6 separate regions of the Homo sapiens genome follow, and all the other regions are linked to region 1. The links are contacts of gene promoters, found by promoter capture Hi-C in blood cells and fetal thymus (Javierre and others, 2016). All regions are on one chromosome and are shown on one strand. The core of a region is centred on a gene start or on the middle of the fragment in contact, and the rest is flanking DNA. Distances in the headings are between cores, read along the strand shown.

Region 1 (3,439 bases), core at 474-2,973:
AACAAGCACTCAACAAATGCACGACAGCATGTACTATTTTTCTTTTTGCCCCACTGAATAAGCTACATCTTTCTAATTTTACCATTTGATTCATTCTACAAAATGCTTTTCCCATGGCAGTCACTTAGTCAGAACTGAGACTCCCTCTTCCTGGTTCCACTATTTTATCAGGTGAATTTCTTTTTTCACAGCCACAAAGTCATTGCACTGCTTGCATTAACATTCCCGTTAGTATAAGATGACTACCCTTAATCAGTGGGCACAGAAATCATTATATTAGTCAGAGGTGATAGTTTTTCCTTTCTTCATTTAAAAATCTATTAACGATGAGAATAAAAATAATCTTAAAAGCTTAAGTACGTAAATCACCTGGAAGGTCGACAAAATCTTCTTCTGTAGCCATTTTTGAGATGATCCTGAAAGAAAAGTAAATCATCAATTTGGTTTCTTTAAGATAGAGTCGAGTAAAATTTATTTTCAAAGTAACTTCATCCAGTATGGGCATGCTATACACCAAACATCTCCTAAGGGCTCAAAACAATTTTGAGGTTATGTTATGACATAACATAGGTTATGACAGGCATTTAAAAACTGAACTGCAGGCATCTGGTAAGCTTTATTCCGCTTCTCTCCCCACAGTGAGAATGGCTTTATTGCTTTCTTCTGATTATATATAATGTAAACAATATATGTGCTCATAGTAAAAAGTATAGATTATATTATTCTTTCATACAACTCTTTATGTTTATATGTATAACGTCACATAATGGGAGATCATCGAAGCTGAAGATTTTCTTAGAAGGGGAGATAAATTAGAAAAGAAATGATACGGATTTTTATATAGTAACCATAACCAAAGTATGAAATATAGAATAGTGAACACCAAAGAAGTCCAGAAATATGTAAACAAAATGAGTTGTCGCCCCCATTAGTCATTCACAGCTTGTACCTTTTAACTGATAGCTGTCTTTCAGAAGAGTTTGTCAATAACATATGCTCCATAAATCAGCCTCAAGAACTGCATAAAAGGCCACCATTTTGACAGAAGAACTGAAAACGTCAAATTATTTCGAGACGTACTTGTTACATAATCTGTTTCTCCCAACTACCAAGTGTGACGCAAAGACACACTTTTAAGGCGTTTCAATACTTCTACCATGGGGAGAAAAGTTATTTGGAGGCCTAGGAACTGGAGCTAGACTAAAAAGCAGAAGCCAAGATCGCGCCACTGCACTCCAGCCTGGGGGACAGAGCAAGACCCCGTCTCAAAAACAAAAACAAAAAAAAACCCAGCAGAAATCACAAGCACCTCTCAAGAGTAAGACGTAGGCACAGACGAAATGACGACATGAAAACTTAAGAAATAATAAAAGTACAGTAAATTAACTCTGGTTATCGACACACGATCACACTTGATTTCAAAAATTCCTGCGGCTTTCCCACTGAAATCCCTCAGAGATCACAGCCTCAGCCTAGCATTTCCTTCTCCCCAGCCTCGGGCGCCCGTGCCCCAGCCAGCCGCTCAACCACTCGCCTGGAGCGGGGGGCCTGCACTTACCAGACCGGACGCAGCCATGTTCCGGCCCCGCTGAGCCAGCGCAACTGTCTGAGGTGGAAGCCCACACGGACCACAGCTCCAGGAAGCCGAGCAAGAAACGAATCGCCGGAATACCAGGCCGCGGCCAAGCAATAACCTTAAGTCTCAGGCGACTGCCGCGAGAGCTGCGATCCGGAAGGCGCGCGCTAACAACACTCCCCCGCCATTGGCTCCGCCCTCAACAAACAAGAACGCTTGGCCTGTGCCTGGGTTTGAACCCGGAGACACATGCGCAAAACGGGCCGCGCCGTCCAATAGGAAGCAAGCCGTTAGTGGGCTCGCCCCTTCATGCTCCAGGCCAACGGCCCTCCAGCCTGCAGACCCACCCGCCCGCCCTACCTCTAGCCGCTCTGCTCTTCCCACCTCCCTTCCTCAGCGCCGCGCCCGGGACAGGCGCGAGACTGGGCTTTTATTAGGAAGGCACGATCCTGGGAACCGCTCCTTGTGCCCAATGTAAAACTTCTCAACAGTTCTATTAAGGAATAATAAGTAATACTTGGAAGGATGAGAGGTAGAAATTGCAGACGACTTTTTTTTTAATAGAATCTTTTTTTGAAGAGATTTTTCTAATGCAGATTCGTCAGCCACGCCCAGCCCATCTAACCATCATCTCTGAAAATAATTGAATAATTATGTATAATAATGGTGATGATGGCTTGTATTCTTTTTCAAGTATGTGGGCGATATTTTTATGATGCATTGCCAACAAATGACCCACGTAAATATCTATCATTTAAGTATGATGCACTGAAAAGAATTCTATACAGAATCCTGAAACCTGCCAGCCATTGACTAGCTATGTTATGGAGGGCAAAATTGCGGCACCATTCTGGGTGTTTCCATAGTGATAGAATGGAAGTCTAAATTAGACGCTCTGAAGACTTCTCACCTGACCAGTGTATGATTCTATGAAGCTGTATCTTATTTTATTATTTAATTTAAAATTACAAGAAAATTCTAATCAGAAAATAGTTTACTAATTGAATAAATACATTAATCAGGAGTTGAGCTAATAGATTTTTAAAACATGTAGTGCTTTAACAAATGCTGTCAACTATGAAGGCCAATTTTTTTATTTTATTTATTTTTTTGATAGAAAAAAAGGAACTATGATCTCTGACTGAAATTAGGCCTGGATTGCACTCCATTCCATTAATTCTGCCATTATGGGCAACTAAGTTATCTGTTCCTTAATTCTCTTGTCTGCAAAATGAGAATACTATTAAAGTGGTTGAGATGTTGTAATTGAATAATTCCTGTTAAGATCTAAGCACAATGTTTGGAACATAGTAAGAATTCAATAATAAAGCTATTGGAATCATTATGGAGAGTTTTTTACTATGTTTGGCAGTTTTGCCAATCAGTCCAACTTATAATTTGGTGCTGTCACATTTGGAATAGATAATGATAAACACTAACATTTATTGACTGCATACTCTATGCCCAGTTCTGAAATGCTTTGCATGCATTGAAGAGAACAATTAATATTCCTGTTTTATAAACAAGGGCACTGAAACACAGAGAGCTAAGTGTCTTACCCAAGATCACATCACCACTAAATGGTAGGATGGGTTATTATCCCAAGAATTCTCACTCCACAACTGAGCTCTTAATCACTACACTCTTTGCCTCTGGGTAAGAAATTTTAGCAAGCACGATTATAGATGTAAAGTCCCACATGTAAAATTATATCCTCCTGCTTCCACTGGAAACTAAGTCCCACACTTATTTTGAGAAATTTGGAATGCAATGGCTTGTGCTGCTGCAGAAAGCAGGCCACAGAGGGCGTTGAGGATTAACTGTTCTAAAGAAAATAGAGCAGTACTCTTATAAAAACAGTTG
Region 2 (3,439 bases), core at 658-3,157, 250 kb after region 1:
CACACTCTGGGCAATAATATGCTTTAAAAAATGTCCTTTGGAATTTAGCAAATAATGATTCGTTAGTTCAGTTGCTTAAAGCATGATATAAATGAAGCCATGCATTGTCTCAGGATTAAGTTGCATGAAAAAGGTGTGCTCGATAACAATCTATACCTCTGTGTAGGCTAGCCACTCACAAATGAGTACTAGGCCAAGCTTCATTTTTCTTGTAGAACTCTTTGTAGTGGGTCAGGGCCATCGTCCTTGTATACTAATGTATTTGCTATTATTTTTTCTATTACTTCTATATAATTCAAATTTTTACTTTAACCAATCATGGTTTTGAGTAAGTATGTTTTTAAAAATGTTTTTCATACCTATTCCATTCATGAGATGGAGTTTGCCAGGATAGACAAGACATTTTATTTGGAAAATGATGACTATATTTTAAAATAAATGGTAGTCATACCCTTAAGTATGCCTACCAAAGTTCTGAGTAGTCAACTTTATGAGGCATTTCATTAAAAACCCTCACTTTAACGTATAAGGCATTTCTTTGCTTTTTCAAAGACTGATTTGAATTTTTCCTTCCAGAGCTTTCAGGAGAGATCTACTATGTGGTCATTTTTGCAGTTTTATAGTTGGTTCAGCTAATCTAGTGTTGTGCTCTTTCCTTTAGCTCTTGGGTTGATAGCTTATGGCAGTGATAGTCAAGTGTATCACGCCGTGAAGTCAACTGTTTGGTAAGTGAGATATCACTTGCATTTCTCTACTTGTTCTTTTCTTTCTTTTTTTTTGCATTGAAGTTTGAATTATACAAACATTAAATATCATATGTATATTCTGTTTTGATTGTTAAACTATAGAATAGCCTAATGAGATCGTATAAGAAGTCATAAATTACTTAATAAAAGAAAAATTGTTTTAACTAATTTTAACTATGTAATCATCTCTTTGTTACAGGAATGTGATATTGTTCAAGCATAAATGAATATAAATTTGAGGGCTTGGGGATGCTTAAAATCTTTTCCCATTGAAATCAATAGAATTAGGTCAAGGAATTTACCCTAGGAGAGATTTTTCAGGAAATAATTCTTTCATAGGCAGAGGAAAACTATGCTATCAATGGTTTTTCTAGGTTTTATGCTAAATAGGCAATTTTAAAGTCTTCTGATTTAGAAAGTTTAGAATTGATAGAGAAAACTTTGATCTCTCACTAAATAATACACTCCAGAAATACTGATTTTATTAATTTCTCAGAAAGTAGTAGCATTGCTACTTTTCATGAGATTCAGGAGTAATTGGAAAATAAAATTATACATTATATTTATGGATCTTAATAATTGAAGTACTTTTTACATCCTAAATCTGGGGGTAGCAATGTCTACTAGTAGCACACCTCTGCCATACTTGTCATCATCCCTCCTAAATTGAGATTCTGGAAGAAAATTAAACTCTACTGTCTATGGCAACAGTTATATGAGACGAATAAACCTCTCTCTTATGCAACTGGAATGGTATTAACTATGTATCATCTTTGGAAGAACTGAAAACACACTCACCCATGTCGTGTTTTTAGGGCTTAATTCTTTTGTGTAACATGAGTTGAGAAGGGGTACATATGTTCTCTCTTGCTATCCTGGTTGTTAGTTGCAGCTTTTATATTATGAAATATTAATTCATCCAATAAATATTTACTGCCATGTGTCTGGCCCTGTGCTAGGCTCTGACAATATAATGCTGGGCAAAAATGAACATGGCCTCTGCAAGAGGTTTGAACTATGCATTTACTAAAGTGATTATTTGACTACTGACTGTATTTCCCATCAAACTATAATCTAAAGGTGGGAAAGACAGTAACCTAGAGATTCATATCTACTGTAATCTGGAGATTCATATCTTATACAGAAATCAACTCAAAATTGATAAAAGACTTCAACATAAGACCTGAAACTGTAAAACTACTAGAAGAAAATGTAGAAGAAAAGCTCTAAGACATTGGCCTTGGCAATAATTTTTGGATATGAAACAGCACAGACAACAGAAAGGAAAATAAACAAATGGGATTACATGAAACTAAAAAGCTCCTGCAGAGTAAAGGAAAAAATCAACAAAATGAAGAGACAACCTATGGAATGGGAGAATATATTTGCAAGACACATGTCTGATAAGGGATTAATATCCAAAATATACGGAACTCAAACAATAACAAGAGAACAAATAACCCAATTAAAAATGGGGCAAAGGAAAAGCCAAAAGATAACAAGTGTTGGAGAGGGTGTGAAGAAAAGTGAACTCTTGCACACTGTTGATGGGAATGTAAATTAGTGTAGCCATTAAGAAAAACAACATGGGCCGGGCGCGGTGGCTCACGCCTGTAATCCCAGCACTTTGGGAGGCCGAGGCGGGTGGATCATGAGGTCAGGAGATCGAGACCATCCTGGCTAACAAGGTGAAACCCCGTCTCTACTAAAAATACAAAAAATTAGCCGGGCGCGGTGGCGGGCGCCTGTAGTCCCAGCTACTGGGGAGGCTGAGGCAGGAGAATGGCGTGAACCCGGGAAGCGGAGCTTGCAGTGAGCCGAGATTGCGCCACTGCAGTCCGCAGTCCGGCCTGGGCGACAGAGCGAGACTCCGTCTCAAAAAAAAAAAAAAAGAAAAACAACATGGATGTTTCTCAAAACACTAAAAACAAAACTACCATATGATCCAGCAATTCCACTGCTGGTATGTATTCAAAGGAAATACAATCAGTATGCTGAAGAGATATCTGCACTCCCATGTTCATTGCATCATTTTTCGTAATAGCCAAGATATGGAAACAACCAAAATGTCCATCAATGGATGAATGATTAAAAAAAGTGTGCTATGTATCCATAGAGGAATACTATTCTGTCATAAGAAAGAAGGAAGTCCTGTCATTTGAAACAACATGGTTGAACCTGGAGGAAATTATAAGTGAAATAAACCAGGCACAGAAAGACAAATAATGCATGATCTCACATGCCAAAACTAAAAAAATTGAACTCACAGAAGTAGAGAGTAGAATGGTGGTTACTACGGAATAGAAATTGGGTTGGGGATTTATTGGCCAAAGGATACAAGATTTCAGTCAGATGGAATAAATTCAAAAGCCGTATTGTATAACATGGTAACTGTAATTAATAACAATGTCTTGTATTCTTGAAAATTGCTAAACGAGTAGATTTTAGAATTTTGACCATGAAAATGATAAATATCTGAGGGTAATACATATGTTAACTAGATTGATATAGCCATTCTACAATGTGTATGTATTTCAAAGCATCATATTTTACATGATAAATATGTATAATTTTTCCCTGTCAATTAAAATCTATCAATAAATATGAAAAAATAAACCTTGAGAGGAAGTGCTCTGAAAAAAAGAACACCTTCTATAAGAGATGTCACAAAGGATCTTGGCCCTGGCTGGGAC
Region 3 (3,439 bases), core at 301-2,800, 230 kb after region 1:
ATGAATAAAATAAAGGTTTTCTTGGATTTATCACTGATTCTACCTGCTTAGAAACTTTTGTTAGCTCTGGGACTATTGTTCATAAACAGCAACAATTGTTAAAAGCACATTAAGCATAAGGAAAAACATCTTAGTGTAGAGTTCAGAGCATAGGCCCTAGAGCCCAATTTCCTGCGTTTAAATCTCAGTTCTTTTGCCGCTTAATAGCTCTGTGAGTTTAGACAAATTACTTGATCTTTTTGTCTCAATTTCCTCATCTAGAAATAGGGCTTACAATAGCACAAATATACTGCAGAGGACTGAGGTAACTATAATAAATTAATATTTGTAAAGTGCTGAAAACAGTGCTTGGCACATGGGAATACTATATAAGAGTTGTTAAATCAATAAAATATTTAGGATGTTGGAATCACATTGTGAAAGCTCCATGATTGTTAATTTTGCTATTAGACACAGCTGAATGTTTCTCAGTGAAATGACAATCATACTAAAGTCACCAGTAAACCATCTCATCTCTTCATTGCTTATTCTAAATTGAGTTTCTTTCCCACTCCTGCTCACAGCTTTATACAGCAAGGTAATTTAGCACTTTAGGACTTTAATGAGACCTATTTGATATCATTGTAATTCTAATTAGATACTTTGGCTAGGAAACATACTTAAGCCTTTAAAAATTGTCAATCCCTTGAGAAAACTGAACTGATTATTTGGAAATTTAAAACTACAAGAATAAAGTTCTTGAAATTAGAATAAACAGACTTACCTGGCAGGCATCCACACGTGGCTCCAGGAACCCGGCACACAACATTCCAGATGTGATGACTCTGCCATCTGCCTCCCCATTGTTGCAGGTCCTATTATCTATAATCTTCACTAATCCCTTGTGGAGTACATTAGAAGTTGTTCGTAAAGGAAGAAAATTGTATAATTTTTATTGATGTCACTATTAATCTTTCTGGCTAGGCTATTAGTATCTAACTTTAACACTATGTACAATTTCTAAATCAAATCAGTGTAAAGTATAATTAAGCTTTTAGCTGTAGTAACAAAAAAGCAAGTAATGTTTATAAACATACCAAGCTGTTGCTGAAAAATGACCATTTTTAGAAATATTTAGTGTGTACATCTATATGTAATAAGATTTTTTCTTTTGAATTGTTTTGAAATTTTATATGTATTACATGTATTAATATGTAATAATATGTTTATTAATGTATTAATATGTTGTATATAAGTAAAAAAATAACATGAGCATATTTTGAATAACTCAATAAGCTATGTTTTAGAAGATAACTCATGGAAACTACATCTTATTTCTTATTCTGTACAGAAAAGATGTCTTAGAAAACAAAATGAATCAGGTGCTGTGGCTCACGCCTGTAATCCCAGCACTTTGGGAGGCCGAGGTGGGCGGATCACCTGAGATCAGGAGTTCGAGATCAGCCTGACCAACATGGTGAAACCCTGTCTCTATTAAAAACACAAAAATTAGCCAAGTGTTGTGGTTCATGCCTGCAGTTCCAGCTACTTGGTAGGCTGAGGCAGGAGAATCACTTGAACCTGAGAGGCGGAGGTTGCAGGGAGCCGAGATCATGCCATTGCACTCCAGCCTGGGCAACAGAGTGAGACTCTGTCTCGAAAAAAACAAAAACAAAACAAAAACAAAAAAAAAAACCAACCAACCAAACAAACAAAAACAAAAGAAAACAAAATGAAAAACTCATATTGCAGGAGCATACATTTTATGATTATTTAAAAATTTTTAAGCTAAATTTTTACTGTAATTCTGAATCTTGAAATTAATTTTAGGTTTATTTTTCTGCTTTCAAACTGCATTTACAGACATTAATAGCCACTAAGTGTTCACATTATTAGGGTCATGGGGATGCATATATTTAAATCTTTGCTCAAGTATCACCTTGTCACCTCATTAAAAATGCTGAATCCCCTACAGTCCCTATTTTTTTCTATGGCACTTAACTGCATAAAATTTGCTATAACTTACTTATTTCTTTTAATATACTTACATCCTTCATTTCATGAAATTGTCCATTTTCCTTTGTTAAGGATGAAAGCTTTTTCCTTTTTTTTTTTTTAACTAAGAAAATAGGCAGGAATTATCTGCCCATTTCATTCATTAACGTATCCAAACCACCTAGAACAATCCCTGAACAAAGGTGGTAATTATTTTCCATTAGTAAATGAATAAATGAATGAAGGAAATGAATTACTTATTCAAATAATATATTTCTTGAAAAACTGCCATCTTAAGAGGAATTATAGTAAGCAGCTCTATGAAGTTATAGTTTCTGCATGAATGTTGTTGAGGATAATTTTCAATCCATTCCACATTGTACTCTTAAAAATGATCCAGAGAAAGTATTTTTCAGTTTAGGTGTAATTCTGAGTATTTTACTTTTTAACTCCTGAAATTCAAGCCATATAACGGAGTCAGGTGAGGAACTCACCATCAGACTTTAAATGATCCCCATGCAGTAACCACTGCTTCTGAATTGTATAGGAATATATAATTAACATCTGGAAGACATGCTTTTTGGATGTTGCTTGTATATAACACTGGTGAAGATAGATGCACAACAGCAATGTCATTATCGTGTGCAGGGTAATGGTAGTTTTCTTGAATTATAACATTCTTGATATTTCACTGTGTTTGTGGGTTACTTAAAATAACATTCCATTCTTTGGGATCATGGACCCTAAAAAATAGATTTATTAATTAAAAGTCCTGTGTATTGTACTTGTAGGAATTAATGTCTTACAATTTTAAAAACAATTACGTATGTTTTGAGTTCCCATGATACTTGTAAGCATACAAAAATAAAGTTGTGTATAAGAGAAAAATAAAAATAATGATAACATGAGCAGATTTTGAATAATGCAATGTTATGTTTAGAAGATAACCCATGAAAACTACATTTTATTTCTTATTCTGTATAGAAAAGACTGAAGGGGATTTAGAAAAATAAATGATGACAATATAGGATAATAAGATTAAACAAAAAGTGGGCAAGGGTATGGGAAAGTGAACTAAGGGAAATTATGGAAATAGTCTAAATCTTCTTTTTGACCATTAAAATCTATAAAAAGAAATGTATTTCTGACTTATTATTATTTGTTAATCCAGGATTTTTATATTAAGTGCTGAAAAATAGTGCTGCTGAAACATTTTCAAACTCTCTACTAAAGCAACATAAGAAGCAAGCATGATTTTGAAGAGAGCTGAGCAGGTTTGGGAGAGATTTTTTTGCTTAAAAAAGACCCAATGAGGGCTATATAAAATCAATGGAAGTTAATGAAAAATATCATCAAACAAAAGGGTAAACAAGTCTTAGTGAAAAAGGGCAAACTATTGGTGCAATAATATACCCTTTAAAGACATCATCATTTCAAATAGGGCTGTACAAATATAGAAAGATGT
Region 4 (3,439 bases), core at 221-2,720, 200 kb after region 1:
TGATGAAATCCCAAGCGTAGGTAGTATGCTACATGAGGGGTGAGTTTTTTGCTAACACCACAAAGGTCTCTGGCCCAATGAGTGGAGTTTGATAGGAGTTCTTGTGACAAGTCTAATGTTATTGCATGCCAGTTTTGAGGAGAGATGAAAACATTTGAAAAGCAGTGTGTTTTTTTTCTACGTTTGTCTGTATTTCTTACTCAGGCCTCTCAGGCATTACTTGGCCTTTCTGTTTTCACACCAACTTGGTGAGTTCTACTATAAGATTCTAAAAAGATGGGTAGTGCGTGGTTCAAATTGGTTCATTTGTAACTGGAAAAAATTTATAATTAAAAAAATAAAATATGTTTAAAAAAGCCATAATGATGAAACTTTCAATTAGCAATGACTTTGAAACATAGTACTATGATTGAGTTAATGGCTATCTTATTTAACACATGCTTATTTTTTAAGCAACTCTTTGGTAAAATAAACTATAGCTGGCATTCTCTGTCATAAAAGATAAAGCAGTTATATCCTTCAATCAGGGAATTTAATATTTGGTAGTGCAGATTTAAAATGTATGTGACCCAGGTAATACAAGATAGACCAATAAATTTTAAGAAAGGTATAATAAAGTGTACACAAATTCAGAATCTTACTTGCCCATAAATTAACTTGCTATTGTCTTAGTTCCGTTTATTTTGTGCTCCAAGGCCATGTTCATTTGAATGATTTATGTAGAGATCCACTTTGCTTTTAGTTGTTCATTTGTCCTTGGATTATATTTCTTTAATTTTGGTATATTTCTCCTCTCTTGCCCCTGGCCCTGGTTCTTATCAGTGTTTGCTTTATTTTGCCATAAACAAGAACATTCTGTTTTTGTTTTTCACAGTCAATTGCAGTTGTTCATTTCTTCTTAGAATATTATCTTTAACACTCACCTTACCCACACTAATTACACCCTTACCTAGTGTTGTCCACAGGTAATTATCTTCAGATGTGTGCTTCAGTTTCCTCATCTACATACATGGAGAAAATAGTAATATCTACCTCTAAGGCCTATCATGACAATAAATGAGTTAATACATGCAAAGCACCTGGAATAGTGCCTGGAACACAGCACTTTATAAATCTTTACCATTATTATAATTAAAACTTGAGGCACACAATTTTTATATGTATCCATATGCGTTTATATGTTTATAAATGTGTATCATATATATTTTTTTCTTGATGTGTTTTAAGCATCAGTTTTCACTTCAAGCTTTTTCTGCCTTTTTCTTCCCCAGCCTCCTACAGGTAAAAAGGAAATAGACAATATTGCAGTGTTCACTGGGCAGAGTTGGGTAGAGTGTAGTAGTTAAAAGAGCTGGCTGCACCCATTAACTCGCATGGCACATGTATACATATGTAACAAACCTGCACGTTGTGCACGTGTACCCTAAAACTTAAAGTATAATAATAATAATAAAATAAATAAATAAATAAATAAATGGGAAGCCTCTGACTGTTAAAAAAAAAAGAGCTGGCTATGGATATGGCCATATATAGATAACTAAATATACTGATATACTGAGATTTCCACTTAGTAAACAGTAATTTTGGGCATGTTATATAATATTGGAGGTTTAGTTTCTTCATGTGTAAAATAAAGATAATGATTGTGCATAATTTATGTGATTGTTGGAAGCATTATATGAAATATTGCATGTAAAAGCTTATTTATTTAATATTTATTCACTGCCTGTTCTGTGAACCTAGCATGTAAAAGCTTTTAGCCAAATTCCTGGCACATATTTATGTCTTCAAGCATTATTTATCATCATCAACATTATTGCTATTGTTATTTCTGCTAGTAGCACAGTACTATGTTGTAGCACAATGTTAGGCATATTGTACCTGTGTGATAATATTTATTGAATTTAAACCGTTGGCCAATGTCAGTAGTGCATTCTACACCAGTAAATTCTCTGTGTGTTAAGGCAAGCCTCCACACATCTTCAGACAACATATCTTTACACTAAGGACTAAGGAGTGGCCCACATTTCTTGCCGGCAGGCCTGGGTTAACCATAGAATTTAAAAGCTGTCAATATGTAATACTCTGTATTAGTACAGATAAACTAGTGATAAGCTTAACACAGATAAGCTATGAACTCTTTCTGCAAATAACCTGCTACTCTGGAATTCTTGTGGTATTAAATGACTCTTATTAGAAACCATGTGATTTTAAATTAGATACGGGCACATCTAATTTAGGAAATGTCTTCTCTTCAATTTATATTTACCACCCTAACCACAGATGGTCTTAAACCAAAGCTATCCCAGGGTGTTTGCTGCTTTTTCTTTTCCTCCTTCCCTCCTTCGTTTTTCTTTTCTACCTTTCCTCCTTTTTCCTCCCCTTCCCTCCTTTCCCTCCCTCCCTGCCTCCTTTCCTTCGTTCCTTCCTTCTTTCCTTCCTTCCTTCCTTCCGTCTTTCCCCACTTTTATATACGATACCTCCAAGACTTGAATTACTGTGCTCTGACATGTATAATTAGCAGAGTGAGTATGATAGCTTTGTGACCAGGGAGTAGTTTACTAATCAGTCAGAATGCATGCTATAATTTTGAAAAATTTGAAATAATCCACTTTTATATAAGCATTTCTTTTTGCTGTTTCTTAAAGAACCAACAATTCCATACTCATATTTCTGTACTTTTTCTTTCCTGACTTCAAAACCTCTTTTATGAAGGTAAGAAGAAAGGATGGTCTTAGGAAGAAAGGAAAAGAAGAAAAATAAATATTAAATTAGTATTTAAAATTAAGGTGTAAAGTCTTAGATGATTTTATAAATTGTATGACTTATTCTTTACAATTACTCTTTTAAATGTAAGTAATTTGCTCAGAGTCACATAGCTGGTAGGCAGTATTACTGAGATTTGAGCCCAACTCCATTTGAATCTCACACTCATGCCACTTTTACTATCCCATTGGCTTTTGAACTTTGCTGCAAGGAGATAGGAAGTCTTTAGTAACTGTGACTGAGAGCTAGTGAATAACCAAGTGGAGGACTGGTCCTCCTTTCCCTCTATTTTAACCAGAGCAGCTCCACTTATATCTGTTTCATTCATTATGGCTTTTTGTACAGGATTTTTTGTACTGTATTTTATTTAAAAATTTTTAACAGACACATAATAATTGTACATATTTATGGGGTACATTGTGATATAGAATTTTTTAAAAAGAATTCTATTACTAGCATAAAGTTTGAAAGTTTCTATGCCACACTATGCTAAAACTTCTGAGAATGCACTGCCGAATTATCACAGAACATAGCTTCTGAGGTTAATAATGAGGAAAGTGGAAAATCTAGGAGGCCAATTTGAAATTTGGTCATTCTGAGCTGAGGCAAAATGTCATAAATTCCCAGATCCCCAGCCCTGAGTGGTGAAAACATGTTTGTTAAGTGTTTTTTT
Region 5 (3,439 bases), core at 459-2,958, 180 kb after region 1:
TATAATAACTTCAAAATATAATAATAAATGTGTATAAAATAAAATGACTTTCTAGGCTTTATGGTATAAATGCATCAGGATCTGCCTGCTAATGCAGCTAGACTGTAGTATGTAAGAGGAAGAGTGTTCAAAATAAAACTAGAGAGGAGCCTAAATAAAACTAGAGAGTTCAAAATAAAACTAGAGAGGAGCCAAAATAAAAAGAGTGTTCAAAATAAAACTAGAGAGGAGCCGAGTTACTTGGGAATTTGTAAATACAACAGGTATTTCAGGTTCAAGTTCAGGGATGATAGCCTTTCCTTCTTAAGCCTATTCTTTTTTTTTTTTTTTTTTTTTTAGACGGAATCTCACTCTGTTGCCCAGGCTGGAGTGCAGTGGTGAGATCTTGGCTCGCTGCAACCTCTGCCTCCAAGATTCAATTGATTCTCCTGCCTCAGCTTCCTGAGTAGCTGGGATTACAGGTGCCCTCCATGGATCTCAGATAATTTTTGTACTTTTAGTATAGGGGGGTTTCACCATGTTCGCTAGGCTGGCTTGAACTCCTGATCAAGTGATCCACCTGTCTGGGCCTCCCCAAGTGCTGGGATTACAGGTGTGAGCCACCACACTGAGCCTTAAGCTTATTCTTTCTGTCATCTCTCTCCATACACACTCATGCATACACACATCTATATGTCATTCTGTTTGTTAAAGCCTTTACTTTCATGGATGAAAATAGAAAAAAATTTGTAGGTACACAAGAGTTATGCAGGAGCAATCACATTTGAAAGTAAAGACAATCTAATCAGACACTGATGACTTAAGTTAAAGATAAACTGTGCTAAGATGTGGCAAGTTAAAGGGAATAGACAACTTATATTTCTCTCCTTCTTTCCCTGATCCTCTGAAATCCACATTGCCTTATAATCTTTCCCTAGGCCATCCATGCTTCTGAATACTCCCCTTCTTTCATCTCTTCACCCTTATACACAGTGAACAAAGGCACTCTTGGCATGACCAACTTGCGGTCTAGGCAAGTCCAGGCTTCAGCTATGACTGCAGTATTGCTCCATGAGCACACAACTGCATTTACTTTGGCAGTCTCTACTAGAACTGCAGTGGGACACTGATAATTGATTCCAACCTTGAAGCCAGAGAGGCACAGATCTGCAAATTTGTCTTGATGGTGGCAATGCAGCCTTCATATTTGTGGAAACCATATTACACTGATATAGTAATAATGTATTATTACCATAATACTATACAATAGGTAGTGAGCCATACATTTATCATTTCAAGTGTCACATATCATCTGGTTGGCTAGCTCAGAGCAAGCATTAGTTATCTCTGCTACAGAAAATGTTTGTGGTAGGTTTTCCCAGCAGAGATAGCTGGATATATACACGGAGGGAAGTAGACATAAAGATAGAGAATAAGTATAAAATTTTGATATATTGACATTCAAGGCACCATGAAATCTGAGAGAAACAATGATGGAGAATACACACTGGTTGAAAATGTGCTTAAGGTTATTGTGTATTGGGTGCTCAATATTAAGGTTTCTACATAAATATTATAGATGGCCTCATTATCTAATATGAAGACACAATCAAAGTGCTAAAGAGTTGATGGAATTGAAGACCTCAGCTTCAGCTAAGGAAAGCTAAGGAGCTGGGTAAATGGAGAATTTTGCTCCTATAATCAACTGATAGAGATTCTATCAACAGAAAGGCAAATAAAAACTGTAGTTACCACCAACCAGCAAAAATTCAAGAAAGCCTGAAGACCTGTACTTAAGTCAGCTAGCTTCTGAATCCAATCCAACACTTAGTCAATGCTTTCCTTTTCAACGGTGTAGTGACTAGAGGCAAAGCTATTTGATGCATCTTCTTTGCTAGTGATCGCTTCCTAAGGCAAACTTCATCACCACGTATTGGCTCTAGGTCCACAAACAATTTTGTGGAGCCATGCTTGACCACAATAGTCCCGTTGAAGAAGGTATTAAAGGAGTCATCTTCTCTCAGAATGCTCTTATTGTTTGGCATTGGATTTGGGCTAAATTTTGTATTCCAGGCATTAGAGCTCCTACCAGTTATTTACATTATTTACAATCTGGATAATACCCTCACTGATGTAATTAGGGATGCTTTAATGCATAGTGGCAGGGATAGGAAGTAAAGATGTGAGAGCAAATATTAAGTCCAGGTTATCATCTCCGACTAACTGAGAATCAAAGTATCTATTTTTATGAAGCAGTGAAATGACAGTTTTAGTATGCCAAGAGGTAAACACTACTCAGAAAAGTTTTCCTACATGTTCTTTATTATCAAATAAAGATAATAATAATAATAATAATAATAATAATTTAAAAATTACCTGCATGAATTCTTAGCCCTCTGCTGGTGAGATTCTGTCGTTATTTCTATGTCTTGGGAAATTGAAGATGAAGGAAATAGGTAATAAATAGATTTTACACCATAAAGTTTTGTGGATAGATCTGATGAATGCTTTAAATGCCAGATGGTCCCATTACTTTTATTACTTCCACTGGACAGAAATGATGGACATTGATGACACCTAATTGCAAACTCTATTTAGTTGCTGAAAGTGTGACAGACACCATACACCTTGTTTCTTAATAGATCTCCTTTCTTCTTGCTAACGGGACCCCACTTTTGTTCAGATATAGTGCTGCCATGAGCTTCATGGCAGGCTGTTTTTCCCTAGCTCTGCACACTGAGTTATGACTGTGAAACTGTCCCTATCAACTGCATAAAATTAGCCAGGGAAGAAGGGAAGGAGAGAAACAAAAACGAACCAAGCTTGTAGCACATTCAGCATTAATCATTAGGTCAGCTTGCTGTCTGACCTGCTTCCTCATGGTTGTTTCCTGCCTATTGCCCCAGAATCACGTAGACCCTGTCACAAGATTATAGTTCCCCTAGATAACATCTTAAGCATTGTGAAGCTTTTATCCATTTGAGATATTCTTTCAAGTCCCGCATACCGGTGAAACTACTGATGTGAAACTACTGATGCCAGCAGGTCTGAAGGACCCCATGAGGTGCTGACTCAGCAAAGAATGCAGTTTCCACATCCTGATGATTTCATCTCTCTTCTCCTGACCCATCAGCAACCTCAATTTTCCAGCCCCTGGCTGTCCACAACCCCTTAAAAACGTCAGCCCAGAACTCTCATGGAGATGGATTTGAGGGTTTTTCCCATGTCCTTGCTCAGCTGCCCTGTAATCATTAAACTCTCTGCTGCTAACTCTGCTGTCTCAGTGTATTGGTCTGTTATTGCATAGCAGGCATATGAACCTGGTGGTCCTGTAACAATTGGTCTAAAATAATCATAATCTCAATCCACTCAAAAGTGGATTGGCTTAGACATTGACATATGAGACAATTCTGAGTAATAGAATTACTCAGTGAGGGATAGTCTTTCAGATGGGTGACTA
Region 6 (3,439 bases), core at 141-2,640, 130 kb after region 1:
GTTTTATTCTAATATGTCTTCTACCTTGAAATTTTTTTGTTCTGTTTCTCAATACACTAGGTTAAATTAGTTAAACATATTAATATTTAACAATTTTGCCCTGGAACCTGTCAATAACATTTAATACAAAATGGAGTACTAACCTGGTATTTATCTAAAAAGGAGAGATCTGTGGTCTCATTGAAAGGAACAGAAGATGATGTGACATGAACGTATGGATTTAGTTCTGCAATATGTTTAAGTACAGCTTCAGCCCTAAAAAAATAAAATAAATTTTTACTGTTCTTTAATTCAATATACTCAAATCTCTTCAAGTTGGACACTGTAATGACATCAGAGGAACCTGACATGTTACAAAATTTCAATGGAAACTTACCTTGTAGAAGAAAGAAACCAAAACTTACTTGTCTTTACAGGTAACCATACAATCTTGAAATGATATACTATCATATTCTACAATAAACCACACAATCTCAAAGTGTACCCTAATAGTTCCAAGCTCCAGGCTCCTTAACTTTCTTAATAATTTAGCAACACTAAAGTCCTTCTTTAATAAATTCAAGGAAATACATTTCTAGGTAGCAGTGTAATATATATATATCTTTTATATATATAATATATATAAAAGATATATTATATGTAATATATATTATATAATACATATTATGTAAATATATAAAAAATTTGACAAATACAAATAATTAAGTATATATCAATATTTATTTAGCCACAGTAGTAGGAATTTATGGTGATCAATTAAATAACTATGACTGATTGGTGTTCTAGATAAAGGAAATATTCTAAGTAAATGAGTTAAAAAAAAACTCATAATACATAAAAATATCTTTACCTGTATAAAGTAGAGCACTTTATATTTAAACAACTATGACTGATTGGTGTTCTAGATAAAGGAAATATTTTAAGTAAATAAATTTAAAAAAACTCATGATAATACATCAAAATATCTTTACCTGTTTCTCTTATTAACAACATCATCTTCACTGAGAAAGAAGTTGGTTCCTAGATCCCATGCTTGGCATTTTTCTGTATCATGAATTGTAACTGCCTTCAAAAAAGAAAAAAGTATTGGTTGAAGTCAGGAGTTCAAGGATATGCACTCTCTCCAGTATTACTGACAATGTACTAGAACTATTATTTTGTGTAATTAGACAATGAAAAGTAAACAAAGGCATAAGAATTAAAATATGTAAAGATGTTCAACCTTGCCCAGAAATGAAATAACTTTTCTCACTTGTTAGATTGGCATAAATCCACAGTTTGACAACATAGTCTATTGGTGATGGTGAGGTGAATGAGCGACTCTCATTATTACTGATTAACAAGGTAAACTGGCTCAACCTCAACGGAAAGGAATTTGGCAATCTCTAGCAAAAAGACATATGCATTTATCCTGTGATGCAGCAATCCCACTTTTAGGACTCCATCTCAAAGACACACTGGGAGAAATACAAAAAGCTATATATACAAGAGTATTAAATATAGCACACTATTTGTAAGAGCAAAAGACTGGAAATAATCAAAATGCCCACCAATGGGGAACTGGCTTTAAGATGATACATCCGTACAATGTATAATCATGCAACTATTAAAAAAAGAATGAAAGATGTATTTATAAATATGGAGTAATCTCCAGGATATGCTATAAAGAGATAGCAAGGTAAAGAAAAGTAGAGCACTTTATATGAGAAAGGTGGGAGGAGATAAACATATATACCCACACATAAACAGATACACATGTATGTGTGTATGCATTTACCTATCTACAAAAACAAATGAAGAATAAACCAAATATAAAAAGACAGTAACCTAATAAGTGAAGGAGGAAACAAGGTAACAAGAAGCTAGACTTACCTGAAAATACTTTGTTTAAAAAATCTGACTTTGAATCATAAATCTCACATAATAGTAAAACTAAATTTTTTAAAAAGCAATCTCTAAAAATCCAAAGCAAAACAAATACATGGACTAAACTGTTTATGGAGTCTGCTACACACAGAGATTTATTTAAAGTGACTTTTAAAAGCAGTTAATTTGCCTGCCAAATCCAGGTAGGATCAAAAAACTCTAAATTTTTTTCAATAATACATTATTATTAACAATATTGGAATTGGTATTCTGAAACTATGCCATACAAGTAAAATATAATAGGATAAAGAATATATAGCATATATAGGATAAAGCACGTAATGGATCATTAGAAACCAAAATCCTAATAAGATACAAATATAAAATCACAGAAATAAATATCCTATAATCCAAAGTAAAAATTAGAAATTTTAGTAATACTTTATAAGCCTAAACCTGAAAATCAGAAATTTCAGTATTTACTCATTACGAACGTTCTAGCTCTGCCCACTGAAAAGACTTTGTAAACAGCGACAAAGACTACTGGGGGCTGTGTCTCAAAGCCTCAAAAAACAGGAAGAGAACCACAATAACCAAAGATGGAACAATCTGAGCATCAATGAAAATAACTATAATAGATCAAAACACATCAAATTATGTTTAAATCCATGAGTTTATCATAATGTACACATACATATAAATTCACTGGTCAATACTACGAAATGATGACAGGAAACCACTGATTTTGAAAACTGGTAAGTTAATGGGGAAAAATGTAGTATTTATCCTGCATTTTGTAAATGTACAATCCATACTTTCGTGAAACCAAGAAAGTCATGACTGGAATTTTTTTCTAAAATATAATTCCAGCTAATAAATGAGAAAAGAATGATAAAACATCATCACTGCCCCTAATGAAATAATGAATCTAGGCAATAATAATTAACAGCTAATAATAATCACAAAAAGAGAGACAACAGAATATTACTGTCTCCTGATGGGAGAACAGCTATGAAACAGTCTTGCCAAAAAGAATCAAATCTGAACTGGATTCTCTGGCTATAACTACCAGTTTACAGGAAATACACATGTAGAAATACCTGTGACAAATGACTAGTTTCTTCAACAAATAAATTGCAAGAAAAAACCTAGGCAAGGAAGGGAAATCTATAGATTAAAATAAACCAAGTTCAGTATACGAATTTTACTTGGATCCTGATTAGAATGATACAAGCTTTCAATAAAATGTCTTAAGACATTTGGGAAAATTTGAACTCTAACTAGACATTTGATGACTGTGGTAGACAGGCTTTTAAGATGGCCACAATGTTTCCTGCTTCATAGTATTTAGGCTTTCGTGTGATCTCCCACCTTGAGTGTGGCCTGGACCCACTTCTGAGATTAGGTTACAAAAGACTGACTTGTCTTGTTAACACACTCTCTTCTCCTGTCTTACTTGTTTACTCTGATGAAGCAAACTGCCACACTGTGAACTGCCCTATGGAGAAAGCCATACAAGCAAGGAATTGAGGGTGACCTTTGGTCAAGAGCCAGCAGGAACTGAGGTCCTCAG

The links. The method cuts DNA at HindIII sites, captures the fragments that hold promoters and counts their contacts. A CHiCAGO score of 5 or more calls a contact.
Region 2: a fragment that was not itself captured here is called in contact with the fragment with the promoter of CENPC in region 1 in 1 of 17 cell types (naive CD4 T cells); the score reaches 5.0 in naive CD4 T cells.
Region 3: a fragment that was not itself captured here is called in contact with the fragment with the promoter of CENPC in region 1 in 3 of 17 cell types (fetal thymus, activated CD4 T cells and non-activated CD4 T cells); the score reaches 7.6 in fetal thymus.
Region 4: a contact is called between a fragment that was not itself captured here and the fragment with the promoter of CENPC in region 1, in 9 of 17 cell types (fetal thymus, total B cells, naive B cells and 6 more). The highest score is 12.7, in fetal thymus.
Region 5: a contact is called between a fragment that was not itself captured here and the fragment with the promoter of CENPC in region 1, in 15 of 17 cell types (activated CD4 T cells, fetal thymus, total B cells and 12 more). The highest score is 12.1, in activated CD4 T cells.
Region 6: a contact is called between a fragment that was not itself captured here and the fragment with the promoter of CENPC in region 1, in 13 of 17 cell types (activated CD4 T cells, total B cells, naive B cells and 10 more). The highest score is 14.4, in activated CD4 T cells.

What each region holds. Positions count from the first base shown.
Region 1 is chr4:67,543,780-67,547,218 of GRCh38, forward strand. It overlaps CENPC (centromere protein C), which reads right to left and starts at 1,724. Exons shown (of 19, transcript NM_001812.4): 1 at 1,559-1,724; 2 at 370-416. The coding sequence starts at 1,576. RefSeq lists enhancers at 1,479-1,718, 1,496-2,046 and a silencer at 1,869-2,008. The HindIII fragment of the contact is 5,245 bases long and covers 613-3,439 here.
Region 2 is chr4:67,789,787-67,793,225 of GRCh38, forward strand. LOC102724780 (a long non-coding RNA gene) reads left to right here. Exons shown (of 2, transcript XR_001741713.3): 1 at 1-725. Among named protein-coding and RNA genes, the nearest start is that of GNRHR, 37 kb to the left of the region's middle. The HindIII fragment of the contact is 3,422 bases long and covers 197-3,439 here.
Region 3 is chr4:67,769,805-67,773,243 of GRCh38, forward strand. It overlaps the pseudogene TMPRSS11CP. Among named protein-coding and RNA genes, the nearest start is that of GNRHR, 17 kb to the left of the region's middle. The HindIII fragment of the contact is 1,045 bases long and covers 1,029-2,073 here.
Region 4 is chr4:67,747,275-67,750,713 of GRCh38, forward strand. All of the region lies in intron 1 of GNRHR (gonadotropin releasing hormone receptor), which reads right to left. It overlaps LOC124900175 (small nucleolar RNA SNORA62/SNORA6 family), which reads left to right; the gene lies at 1-112. Among named protein-coding and RNA genes, the nearest start is that of GNRHR, 5.4 kb to the right of the region's middle. The HindIII fragment of the contact is 453 bases long and covers 1,245-1,697 here.
Region 5 is chr4:67,724,330-67,727,768 of GRCh38, forward strand. It overlaps the pseudogene LOC100419046. Among named protein-coding and RNA genes, the nearest start is that of UBA6-DT, 25 kb to the left of the region's middle. The HindIII fragment of the contact is 2,182 bases long and covers 618-2,799 here.
Region 6 is chr4:67,677,468-67,680,906 of GRCh38, forward strand. UBA6 (ubiquitin like modifier activating enzyme 6) reads right to left here. Exons shown (of 33, transcript NM_018227.6): 5 at 972-1,066; 6 at 144-255. Among named protein-coding and RNA genes, the nearest start is that of UBA6, 22 kb to the right of the region's middle. The HindIII fragment of the contact is 3,415 bases long and covers 1-3,098 here.